Regions from separate parts of the Homo sapiens genome. Here region 2 is linked to region 1. The links are contacts of gene promoters, found by promoter capture Hi-C in blood cells and fetal thymus (Javierre and others, 2016). All regions are on one chromosome and are shown on one strand. Each heading gives the region's core, a stretch centred on a gene start or on the middle of the fragment in contact. The rest is flanking DNA. Distances are from core to core; before and after follow the strand shown. Region 1 holds the start of PRDX2 (peroxiredoxin 2). Region 2 overlaps HOOK2 (hook microtubule tethering protein 2).

Region 1 (5,531 bases), core at 2,009-4,508:
GGTTTCTCCATGTCGGTCAAGCTTGTCTCGAACTCCCGACCTCAGGTGATCCACCCACCTAGGCCTCCCAAAATGCTGGGATTACAGGTGTGAGCCACTGCATCTGGCCTCTTTTTTTTTTTTTTTTTTTTTAACCAATACCCCATCTCTTAAAAAAAAAAAAAAAGAGATGGGGTATTGCTATGTTGCCTAGGCTCGACTCAAATTCCTGGGCCTAAGCAATCTTCTGCCTCACTCTCCAGAGTAGGTGGAACTACAGGCATGAGACACAGCATCTACAGGCATGAGACACAGCATCTTCCTGTCTTTTTGGCTCCTTTAGTCCCATCTTTGTCCCTCTGCCCCACCCCTACAGGTTTTTTTGTTGTTGTTGTTTTTGAGATGGAGTCTCACACTGGCGCCCAGGCTGGAGTGCAGTGGTGTGATCTCGGCTTACTGCAACCTCCTCCCGGGTTCAAGGGAGTCTCCTGCCTCAGCCTCCCAAGTAGCTGGGATTACAGGCACCTGCCACCGCACCCAGCTAATTTTTTTGTATTTTTAGCAGAGACGCGGTTTCACTATGTTGGCCAGGCTGGTCTCAAACTCCTGACCTCATGATCTGCCCGCCTCGGCCTCCCAAAGTGCTGGGATTACAGGCGTGAGCCACCGCGCTCGGCCTGTTTGTTTGTTTTTTTGAGACAGGGTCTTGCTGTGTCACCCAGGCTGGAGTGCAGTGGTGCGATCACAGCTTACTGCAGCCTTGACCTCCCAGGCTCAAGTGATCCTCCAGCCTCAGCCTCTTGAGTAGCTGGGACTATAGGCATGCTTCACAAACCAAGCTAATTTTTTTTTTTTTTGAGACTGAGTTTTGCTCTGTTGCCCAAGCTGGAGTACAACGGTGCGATCTCAGCTCACTGCAACCTCTGCCTCCTGGGTTCAAGCGAACTCCTGCCTCAGTCTCTCAAGTAGCTGGGATTACAAGTGTGCACCACCACGGCCAGCTAATTTTTTGTGTTCTTCGTAGAGACGGGGTTTCACCATGTTGGTCAGGCTGGTCTCGAACTCCTGACCTCAGGTGATCCACCTGCCACAGCTTCCCAAAGTGCTGGCAATACAACCGTGAGCCACTGAGCCCGGCCCCTTTGTCCACCTTGGTTGAATGTCAGGCGTTATTTGTCTCCTACCACATTAGAAACATCCTGCAGACAAAGCCCTGAGCTGAATCTTCTTTGGGGCCCTAACACCCATCTGGACAGGTAAGAGGACAGGCAGTGAATGTTTGCATGAGTGACGGAGGCGCTCAGTATGTACCCATGTGTCATGTGTGTATCTGCTCACCTTCCCCATGCTCGTCTGTGTACTGGAAGGCCTGGACCAGCCGCAGAGCCTCATCCACGGAGCGTCCCACAGGCAAATCATTAACAGTGATCTGGCGAAGGACACCCTTGCCATCGATGATAAAGAGGCCCCTGAAGACATCAGGGTTCCCAGTGAGGAGCTGATAGCTCCCACTGCCAGAGACAAGGAAGGGACTACCAACCACCCGCTGCTAGCCACAGGGCTGGGGGCAGAGAAGACATTGTACAGGAGTGGTCCCAGCATCACAGGAATGGGGGGCAGGGCGCTCCCTGAGCCGGGCTGAGGGTCCCACAGTACCTGTAGGCAATGCCCTCATCTGTTTTCAGCACGCCGTAATCCTCAGACAAGCGTCTGGTCACGTCAGCAAGCAGGGGGATGTTCAGGGGGCCCAAGCCTCCCTCTTTCCGGGGGGTGTTGATCCTGGGAGTAGGGGAGACAGAGTTGGGGCCTCAGGATGCCTGGCACAGCAGGGTCCTCACCCTGTGGGCCCAATGTGATAAGCACTGGAGGCCGGAGATAAGGGGCTTTAGAGTAGGCCGCTGGGAGCCTCACCCACCCCACCCTGGGTTGGGTGCAAGGACTGTATCCCCATGGCTGGGAAGACTGAGTTTGAGAGGCACAGCTCCAGCTAAGTGGCTTCACATGTACTTGTAACTTGCAGCATCACCCAGCAGAGAGCCTGTGTTAAGAGTCCCCATCCTCCTCTAGCTGTGTCATGGGGTACAGCCCTTCACTTCGGTGAACTGGAGTTTCCATCTTCATGAAATAGGGCAGCACAGCCTCCCTCCTGGGAACTAAGTACATAGAGTAGATAGAGTTGCATCTGAGTTGCATCTGCAACTCTATATACCAGGCAACTAGTTGTCAAATGCTAATTACTGTCATCATCCTTAAAGACTTGGGCGGCAATGTTTCCATTATTTTCACGATGGGGAAACGCAGGTTCCAGAGGTTGAGCAATGGCCACGAAGCCACACTGCTAGGACCTGAGGGTGTGAGCTTAGCTGCAACCTCCCTCTTTGGCCCCTGCTCATACCAAGCCAGGTGGGTGAACTGAGAGTCCACCGAGACGCCCAGCACTTCACAGCCCAGCTTGCGGAAGTCCTCTGCACGGTTGCTGAACGCGATGATCTCGGTGGGGCACACAAAAGTGAAGTCCAGAGGGTAGAAAAAGAGGACCACGTACTTCCCTGGGGAGGAGGGACACAGAGGAGTTAGGGCCCAGCTTCTCTCATGCACGGCCCCGCTTCTACCTGGGCCCCCTCCGGGCGGCGCTCACCTTTGTAGTCCGACAGCTTCACCTCTTTGAAGGCGCCATCAACCACCGCTGTGGCCTTGAAGTCAGGGGCTGGCTTTCCGATGCGCGCGTTACCGGAGGCCATGACTGAAAGCTGAGACCCCCGCCCGGTCAGTGCGCCCGGGAAGACACTTTGTCCTCCCAACCCAAGGTCGCGCTGCGTGCTGGGCCCTATGACTGAGTCAGCACGGCGGAGGCGACAGCACTAACCCTCACCCTCCCGGGTACCCGGTCTACGAGGCCCGGAGGCTGCCGGAGACCCGCTCTCCTGACCAGAGCACGAGTGACCCAGCCACTGCCACCAGCACCCCACGAGCGAGTCGGCCGGAGGGCGGTGTCGCAAGCCCCCAGCCCAGAAGGAGACAGTGAGGCCCGCACGAGCAGGGGGCGGGAAGTCGGGCGATCAGGCCTGCGCTGCAAGGCTGTGGCCTCGGTTTCCCCCGCAAGGACAAAGGAGGCCACTATAGCGGATGGAAAGCAAAGGCGGCCAGCACTAAAGTCAGGATCGGGCCAAAGCAGCCTGAAGGGGGTCCTCCCGCCAGGTGCACTCCGGGTGTTCATACCTGCGTGGGCAAAGGCTAGACGCACGGACGATCACACGCGTGGACCCGCGTTCTCAGCGCCAAGTGAGCCCTGGGCCGCGAAGCCTTTTATGCCCGGCCCGAACCAAGACGTGCACGGCGCGGGGGAGGGAGCGGACGAGCGGAGCGGTCGGGTCCACTGCGCCCGCAGGTGCGGGGGAGCGTGCGGCCGGGTCCATGCGCCTGCGGGCGGCGGGGGGAGACGCGTTGCCTTCGGCCGGGACCACTGCACCTGCCCGCGTGGGTAATGCGCCCGCCGCAGACTCCGCGCACGACTCCGCCTGGGAGCGCGTTGGGGGCCGTTGGAGTCCAGCATGGCGCGGACCCCGGGGGCGCTGCTGCTGGCGCCTCTGCTACTCCTGCAGCTGGCGACCCCTGCCCTGGTCTACCAGGACTATCAGTACTTAGGGCAGCAGGGCGAAGGTGACAGCTGGGAGCAGCTGAGGCTGCAGCATCTAAAGGGTAACCTCAGGCGGCGGGGATGACGATGCCCAAAGGCTCCCCGTTGCCCTACTTCTCCTGCTGGCTGCAAAGGGACCTTCCTCGGCGGGCTGCAAATCTCCACCCAGCTCCGCACTGGAGGCGTCCCCTTGGGCTGGTTACTTTTCTCTAAGGCTCGGTTTACTCTTGGATATATTGAAATAGATACTGCTTTAAAGCAGCTCCCAGGGGAAGAGAGGGTGTGGGCAGGACACTGAAGCTGTCACTCGGGGATAGGTGCCAGGAAGGGCAGAGACAGAGAAAGAAGGGGGCGGGCAAGCTTGGGAAATCAGAGAGGGTCCGATTGCAGAAGACCCGTGACCAGTGCAGCGAGAACGACAAGCGAAAGTCCCATATGGAAAGATTTGGGGAAAGAATGTCCAAGGAAGAGGGAATAGCAAATGCCAAGGTGAAAAGTCCTGAAGGAGAAATGGAAAGAGGTCGGTGAGGTGTGGCAGAGACATGGGTGTGGGAGGGTAGGAGGTGTCAGACCTTGGTGAGCGGTGAGTTGGGATAAGATCGGAGTTGGGATAAGATCTGTCTCATAGGGGAAAGGGGCAGATTCAGTAAAGAGCCCTTTAAAGTGATCACAGTGGCCGGCGCGGTAGCTCACGCCTATAATCCTAGCACTTTGGGAGGCTGAGGTGGGAGGATCCCTTGGTCTCGGAGACCAGACCAGCCTGGCCCACACAGCAAGACTCCATCTCTACAAAAAATATTTTAAAATTAGCCTGACTTGATGGCCCAGCACTTTGGGAGGCCGAGGCGGGAGGACTGCTTGAGCCCAGGAATTCAAGACCAGCCTGGGCAACATGGAGAGACCCCCTACTCTACAAAAATAAATAAATAAATAAAAATAAAAAATAAATTAGCCTGCCATGGTGGCATGCGCCTGTAGTCCCAGCTACTCAAGAGGCTGATACAGGAGGACCATTTGTGCCAAGGAGTTTGAAGCTGCAGTGAGCCATGATTATGCCCTTGCATTCCAACCTGGGTAACAGAGCAAGATCTTGTCTCAAAATAAATAAATTAAATAAATAAACAAACTGATCATAATAAATTGGTTTGTATATGCTAGCACAGCACCGGGAGATTTACTTACCTTCATTATGTCAATTATGCCATTTATCACTTGACAACCCTGCTGTCAGGTGGCATTGTGCCTTCTAGGTAGGGCCATGGTCACACCCCTGAAGACAGAAGTCAGCTTCAAATGGCGGGCACCAAGGATGTTGTAGGACACTCACAACTGGGCAGGCTGGCACAGCCTGGAAGTGTCAGGTTGTAGTTCCTCTGGCCCACTTACCCCGTATATGAGCTTGGAAGGTTGGCTTGCTGTCTCTGGGTCTTGGTTTCCCCACCTGAGACTCGTGGAAATATTAAATGAGGCCAGGCATGGTGGCTGGCTCACACCTGTAATCCCAGCACTTTGGGAGGCTGAGATGGGAGTATCACTTGAGCCCAGGAGTTCCAGACCAGCCTGGGCAACATGGTGAAACACCGTCTCTGCAAAAAATACAAAAAATTAGCCAGGCACAGTGGCATGTGCCTGTAGTCCCAGCTACTTGGTAGGCCGAGGTAGGAGGATTGCTTGAGCCCAGGAGGTTGAGGCTGCAGTGAGCTGTGACTGCGCCACTGCACTCCAGCCTGGGCGACAGAGCGAGACCCTGTCTCAAAAAAAAAAAAAAAAAAAAAAAAAAAGCTTAAATGAGATAATCTGTGGCAGGGTGTCTGGCATAGAAGCAGAGTCTAGCGAATATGTGCTTCTCTTATTCGTTAGTATCTTTATCTTTCTCCCTCTCTGGGGGAGGGGATTGGGAGTAGGCCCCCTCCAC
Region 2 (5,531 bases), core at 779-3,278, 35 kb before region 1:
TTTTTTTTTTTTTTTTTTTTTTTTTTGAGATGGACTCTTGCCCTGTCGCCTAGGCTGGAGCGCAGTGGCACAATCTCAGCTAACTGCAACCTCCGCCTCCCGGGTTCAAATGATTTTCCTGCCTCAGCCTCCTGAGTAGCTGGGATTACAGGCACCCACCACCATGCCCAGCTAATTTTTGTATTTTTAGTAGAGATGGGGTTTCACCATGTTGGCCAGGCTGGTCTCAAACTCCTGACCTCATGTTCCGCCTGCCTTGACCTCCCAAAGTGCTGGGATTACAGCCATGAGCCACGGCACCCAGCCAGCTGTGCAGTATTTTAATGTGACAATCAGTAGCAGTGGGGAATCATGCAGAAGTCTGTCTTATGGTGGGGTATGACAGGTATGAGTTGGGGGCACAGATGTGCAAGCAGGAGGTTTGACTCAATAGGAGGCACAAAAAGTAAGAAGCCAGGGCAGGCAACTTGTGGGAACACCCAGCGTCCTCACCATGCGGGCCTTGTCCACGTAGCGGCGGTATCGCTCCTCCATGGCCCGCAAGTCCGCGTCCTTCTTCTGCAAGTTATGCTGCAGCTCCTCGATCCGCCGGGCTGCTGGCGGAAGAGGTGGCCCATCAGCTCCACGCTGCTGGGCTCTGGGATCTCCCCACCCTCTGGTCACTAGGTCCTACTTACTGCTGCTGTCAGTGGGTGGCTCCAGCTCCTCAATGTACTCCCGCTTCCTCTGCAACTCCAGATCTGCCTCATGAAGCTTCTGCCTGTGGGCCGGGGATGAGCAGCAGTGGGCTGACCTCCGGGCTGGCTTCTCTTTTGTCCCAGTGGTAGCCACAGACCTCCCCGCCAGCCAGAAATGCCCCTACATGGCCACAGAGCCCTCTCTGCCTGCCCCTCATGCCTGGGGCTGTGTGCCCTGGTCCCACCGGCTCCACAGCTGTCAGAGCCACAACCCTCCGCACCCTTAGCAGGTATGCCCCGGAACAGCCCCTGCTGTCCACTTCTTCCCATCCCACAGCTCCCAAGCTGGTTCAGCCACCATCTTCCCTTGCTAGCTTCTTCTACTCTCAAGCACTCCATCCAGCAGCCAGGGATCTTTCTAGAATACAAATCTCTTCAATAGCAGACAGGTAAAAGAAAAGAAAGCAGGCCAGGCGCGGTGGCTCATGCCTGTAATCCCAGCACTTTGGGAGGCCAAAGCGGGTGGATCATCTGGGGTCAGGAGTCCGAGACCAGCCTGGCCAACATAGTGAAACCCCGTCTCTACTAAAAATATAAAAAATCAGCCAGGCATGGTGGCACATGCCTAAGAAACTCCCCACTAATATCAAATCCATGCCCCCACGAGGAGTTCCCTCTTTCTGCGACTTACAAATGTTCCTCCAGCTTCCTTTTCAGCAAAATGGACTGGGAGAGAGAAGAGGCAAGGTGAGTGGGGGATCCAGAGAGGCCCTAATTCTTCCTTCCCAGGGTGAGGGTAGGGGGTGCCATCCTGGGCCCATGGTACTTACAATGGCCTGTATGGGGCATCGGGCAGCATGGGAGAGAGAGGAGGGTTACTTCGGGGCACAAGGGAGGGCCAGGCTGGGAGGTGGTGGGTGACACTCACATCTTCAGTCTTGCCCCCCTGCTCCTGCAGGGCTTTCTGCAGGTCCTCCACCTGGGCCCGCAGCTCGGATAGCTGCTGCTGGTTCAGCCTGCGAGGGTGGGGGGCCGCTTAGTGCCTGTGCCCACTTTTGGCCCCCTCTGTCCCTGCTCCGCGCAGGTAGGTCCCCAGGCGCTCACCGGTGCTGCGTCTCCAACCCGTGGCGCGCGCGGTTGGCATCCTCCAGGTGGCGCTGCAGCTCCTCCTGCCGCTCCCGGTCGGCCGCCTCCTGCCTGCACAGCCGCTTGTTCTCCAGCTGAAGCCGCAGGAGCGTCTCCCTGCAGACCCGGGAGGAGAGAGCAGGGCCAGGGTCGAGTCACCTCGCAGGCTCGCTGGGGCTCAGGGAGAGTGGAGCTAGGGGCGGGACAGAGCCCTGGGGAAGAGCCCAGCCAGACCATGGGGTTGGAGCACCGAGGACCTACTACGGGTTCAGGTTCCCGGCCCAGGGTTAAAGTGGACGGAGCTCTAAGCTGGGATAGTGGGTGGGGCTAGGCAGGGGCGGAGCTACAAGAGTGGATTCGAACAGCTGGGATGGGACTGCTGGAAAGCGGGAAGCAGAAATGGGAAGAACTAGGATGGGACAGTTTTTCGGGGTTTTTTTGTTTGTTTGTTTGGTTAGTTTTGGCTTTTTGTTTGTTTGAGATGGAGTCTCGCTCTGTCGCCCAGGCTGGAATACAGTGGCGCGATCTCGGCTCACTGCAACCTCTGCCTCCCAGGTTCAAGCGATTCTCCTGCCCCAACCTCCCGAGTAGCTGGGACTACAGGTGCGTGCCACCACACCCGGCTAATTTTTTGTATTTTTAGTAGAGACGGGGTTTCACCGTGTTAGCCAGGATGGTCTCGATCTCCTGACCTTGTGATCCGCTCGCCTTGGCCTCCCGAAGTGCTGGGATTACAGGCGTGAGCCACCGCGCCCGGTCGTTTTTCGGGTTTTTAAATCATTTTTATTTTGTAGAGAGGGCCACTATGTTGCCCAAGCTGCTCTCAAACTCCTGGGCTCAAGTGATCCTCCAGCTTCGGCCTTCCAAAGTGCTGGGACTTAGAGGCATGATCCACCGTGCCTGGCCCGGGGTGGGAGAGTTAATCCCGGCAGGGCACAGGGGACTGAAACTCACAGAGGTTACACTAACAGGGGTGGACGCTGGGGGAAAGGATCAAAGTCAGCGGGGCTAGGGCATAGGATTTTTGTGCAGGAACTGGAGCCAGGTGTTGGACATAATTTGTGTACTAAGGATAGACCCTTGAGAGGCAAAGTCATCTGGTAGGGCTGGACAGAGCCAAATCAGGAGTAAGTGGGCCTAGGAGCCCGGCTGGCACCTGGAGCTGAGACCAAGCAACCGGGGCTAGCAGAAGATGGGAGGGCGGGAGCGGGGCTGAGGGCGGGCCTTGGCAAGCCTGGGTGGGGCCAGAGTTTTGAGTGACCCCAGGATACCTGAGCTCCGCAGGCAGGATCTCTGCGGCTAAGTTATCCACGGGTGTGGAGGTGGGATCCAGTGAGGGATCTGAAGAATGCGAGAAAAGTCTTCAGGTCTCTTCGCATCCCCTGTCCCCGCCCCTAGGGTCTTCTTCCCAAGGATCATCTTTTGGGGCTTCAAGTTCAGCCAACAGTCTGGCTTGACACAAGCTCCATCCCCGGCTTGATAGAGAACCGGGAGGGTTGGCCAAGCTTTTTAGCCTTTGCTCCACCCTGAGACCCTGAGCCTCTCTCTTCAATTTGACCGTGTCACCTCTTTCTGGTCACCTCCAGCCTGGCCTAGCTCTGTCCCCAACCTAGACATGCACTGGGACACAACCTGTTCTACCCAAACAGTACACCAGGACAGGTAAGACCCCGGGATGGGGCTTCATCTCACCGGCCTGGGTCAACCCCCGCGGCTGCAGCTGGGCGCAGCGCAGCTCCTCATTGGCCTCCCGCAAGGAGTCCCGCTCCGCCAACAGCCGCTGCAGGGACAGGGTACAAGACACTCCACGGGTCAGGCTCGGCCTCCTGGGAAATGGGCTACCCCAGAATTGGCAGGGTGGGGCTTGGGCAGTGGAACCTCAGCCTCACCTCCTTCTCCTTTGTCACCGACTCATACTTTTCCTCCAGGTTGCGGCATTCAAATAGCCATTTCTCGGCCTTCATGGCCTCCTCCTGCCGCTGGCCCTGCAGTTCCTGCACCTGAACACAGAGAGGGGAGGAATAAGGACAGCAGGGCTGGGAGCAGGGGCAGGGGCTGAGTACAAATGGTCCCCGATCCAGGATGCTTTGACTTATTATTTTTTTGACTTTACTATGGTGCTTTCAGCTGTGTATGTTTTTGCTTGTTTTTTTTAGAGACAGGGTCTCCCTCTGTTGCCCTGGCTGATCTCAAACTCCTGGCCTCAAGCAGTCCTCCCACTTCAGCCTCCCAAAGCACTGGGATTACAGGTGTGAGCCGTTGCACCCAGCCGACTGTGAATGTTAATAGTAGGAACCCATACAACCATTCTGTTTTTCAATTGCAATGAATTAGTCTTCAATAAATTGCGTTATATAGTCAACGCTTTATTATAAAATAGGCTTTATGGTAGATGATTTTGCCAAACTAGGCTAAGGTAAGTTTTCTGAGCATGTTTAAGGTAGGCTAGGCTAGGCTGTGATGCTCAGTAGGTAAAGTATGTTCAATGGATTTTCTTTTTTAAAAAAAATTTAAAAATTTTTATTTTTTGAAAACAGATGGAATCTCGCTATCTTGACCAGGGTGTTCTCGAACTGCTGGCCTCAAGCGATCTCCCATCTCAACCTCTCAAAGTGCTGGGATTATAGGCATGAGTCACCACGCCCAGCTCTCTTTTTCTTTTTCTTTTTTTAATATCTTTTACTTTTTTCTTTTGAGACAGTCTCCCTCTCTCAACCAGGCTGGAGTGCAGTGATGCGATCTTGGCTTACTGCAACTTCCACCTCCCAGGTTCAAGCTATTCTCGTGCTTCAGCTTTCTGGGTAGCTGGGATTACAGGCGCGCGCCACCAGCCCGGCTAATTTTTTTTTTTTTTTTTTTCGAGACGGAGTCTTGCTCTGTCGCCCAGCCTGGAGTGCAGTAGCACGATCTCGGCTCACTGCAAGCTCCGCCTCCCGGGTTCACACCATTCTCCTGCCTCAGCCTCCCGAGTAGCTGGGACTACAGGCGCCCACCACCACGCCCGGCTAATTTTTTGTATTTTTAGTAGAGATGGGGTTTCACCGTGTTAGCCAGGATGGTCTCGATCTCCTGACCTCGGGATCCACCCGCCTCGGCCTCCCAAAGTGCTGGGATTACAGGAGTGAGCCACCACGCCCAGACTAATTTTTCTATTTTTAAGTAGAGACAGGGTTTTGCTATGTTGGCCAGGATGGTCTCAAACTCCTGGCCTCAAGTGATGTGGGGTTACAGAAGGAGTTATGGGGTGCCCGCCTTGGCCTCCCAAAGTGCTGGGATTACAGGCGCGAGCCACCGCACCCGGTCTTTTTCTTTTGTTTGAGTCAGGGTCTCACCCTGTCACCCAGGCTGGAATGCAGTGATGCAGCCACAGCTCACTACAACCTCGAAATCCTGGGCTCAAGTGATCCTCCCGGCTCAGCCTCCCAAAGCGCTGGGATACCAGGCCTGGCCTTTATGCATTTTAGGATATTTTCAATTTACCACGAGTTTTGTTACATGGTTAGGTAGCCCCAAGGAAATCAAGCAGCATGGTGAAGCGGCGGGCATCAAAGAATTTAGAGGAGCGGTACTTAAGGGAAGGGAAAGGCTGGGCTTACTAACCCAGACAGAAGAGCAGCGTGGGTGGAGGGAAGAGGCCCGGAGAGCGTGGCCTACGTACAAATAAGGGAGGGGATCAGGGGTGGGCGGAGGGCTGGCCAACGGTGAGAGACTTGCTGCCAGGGGCGGGGC

What was found. Contacts are between HindIII fragments. The CHiCAGO score rates a contact against its expected background, and 5 or more counts as called.
Region 2: a contact is called between a fragment that was not itself captured here and the fragment with the promoter of PRDX2 in region 1, in 2 of 17 cell types (monocytes and neutrophils). The highest score is 6.1, in monocytes.

Annotation. Positions count from the first base shown.
Region 1 is chr19:12,798,542-12,804,072 of GRCh38, forward strand. It overlaps PRDX2 (peroxiredoxin 2), which reads right to left and starts at 3,259. Exons shown (of 6, transcript NM_005809.6): 1 at 3,199-3,259; 2 at 2,618-2,729; 3 at 2,375-2,528; 4 at 1,636-1,758; 5 at 1,318-1,448. The coding sequence starts at 2,720. THSD8 (thrombospondin type 1 domain containing 8) reads left to right here and starts at 3,528. Exons shown (of 2, transcript NM_001386800.1): 1 at 3,528-3,678. The coding sequence starts at 3,531. RefSeq lists enhancers at 2,337-2,536, 2,864-3,422, silencers at 3,022-3,207, 3,217-3,606 and a cis regulatory region at 3,070-3,619. The HindIII fragment of the contact is 3,955 bases long and covers 20-3,974 here.
Region 2 is chr19:12,764,322-12,769,852 of GRCh38, forward strand. HOOK2 (hook microtubule tethering protein 2) reads right to left here. Exons shown (of 23, transcript NM_013312.3): 12 at 3,692-3,802; 13 at 3,495-3,582; 14 at 3,074-3,143; 15 at 1,782-1,919; 16 at 1,606-1,693; 17 at 1,508-1,513; 18 at 1,369-1,403; 19 at 678-760; 20 at 493-596. Among named protein-coding and RNA genes, the nearest start is that of HOOK2, 8.5 kb to the right of the region's middle. RefSeq lists an enhancer at 1,208-1,753 and a silencer at 5,433-5,531. The HindIII fragment of the contact is 2,554 bases long and covers 752-3,305 here.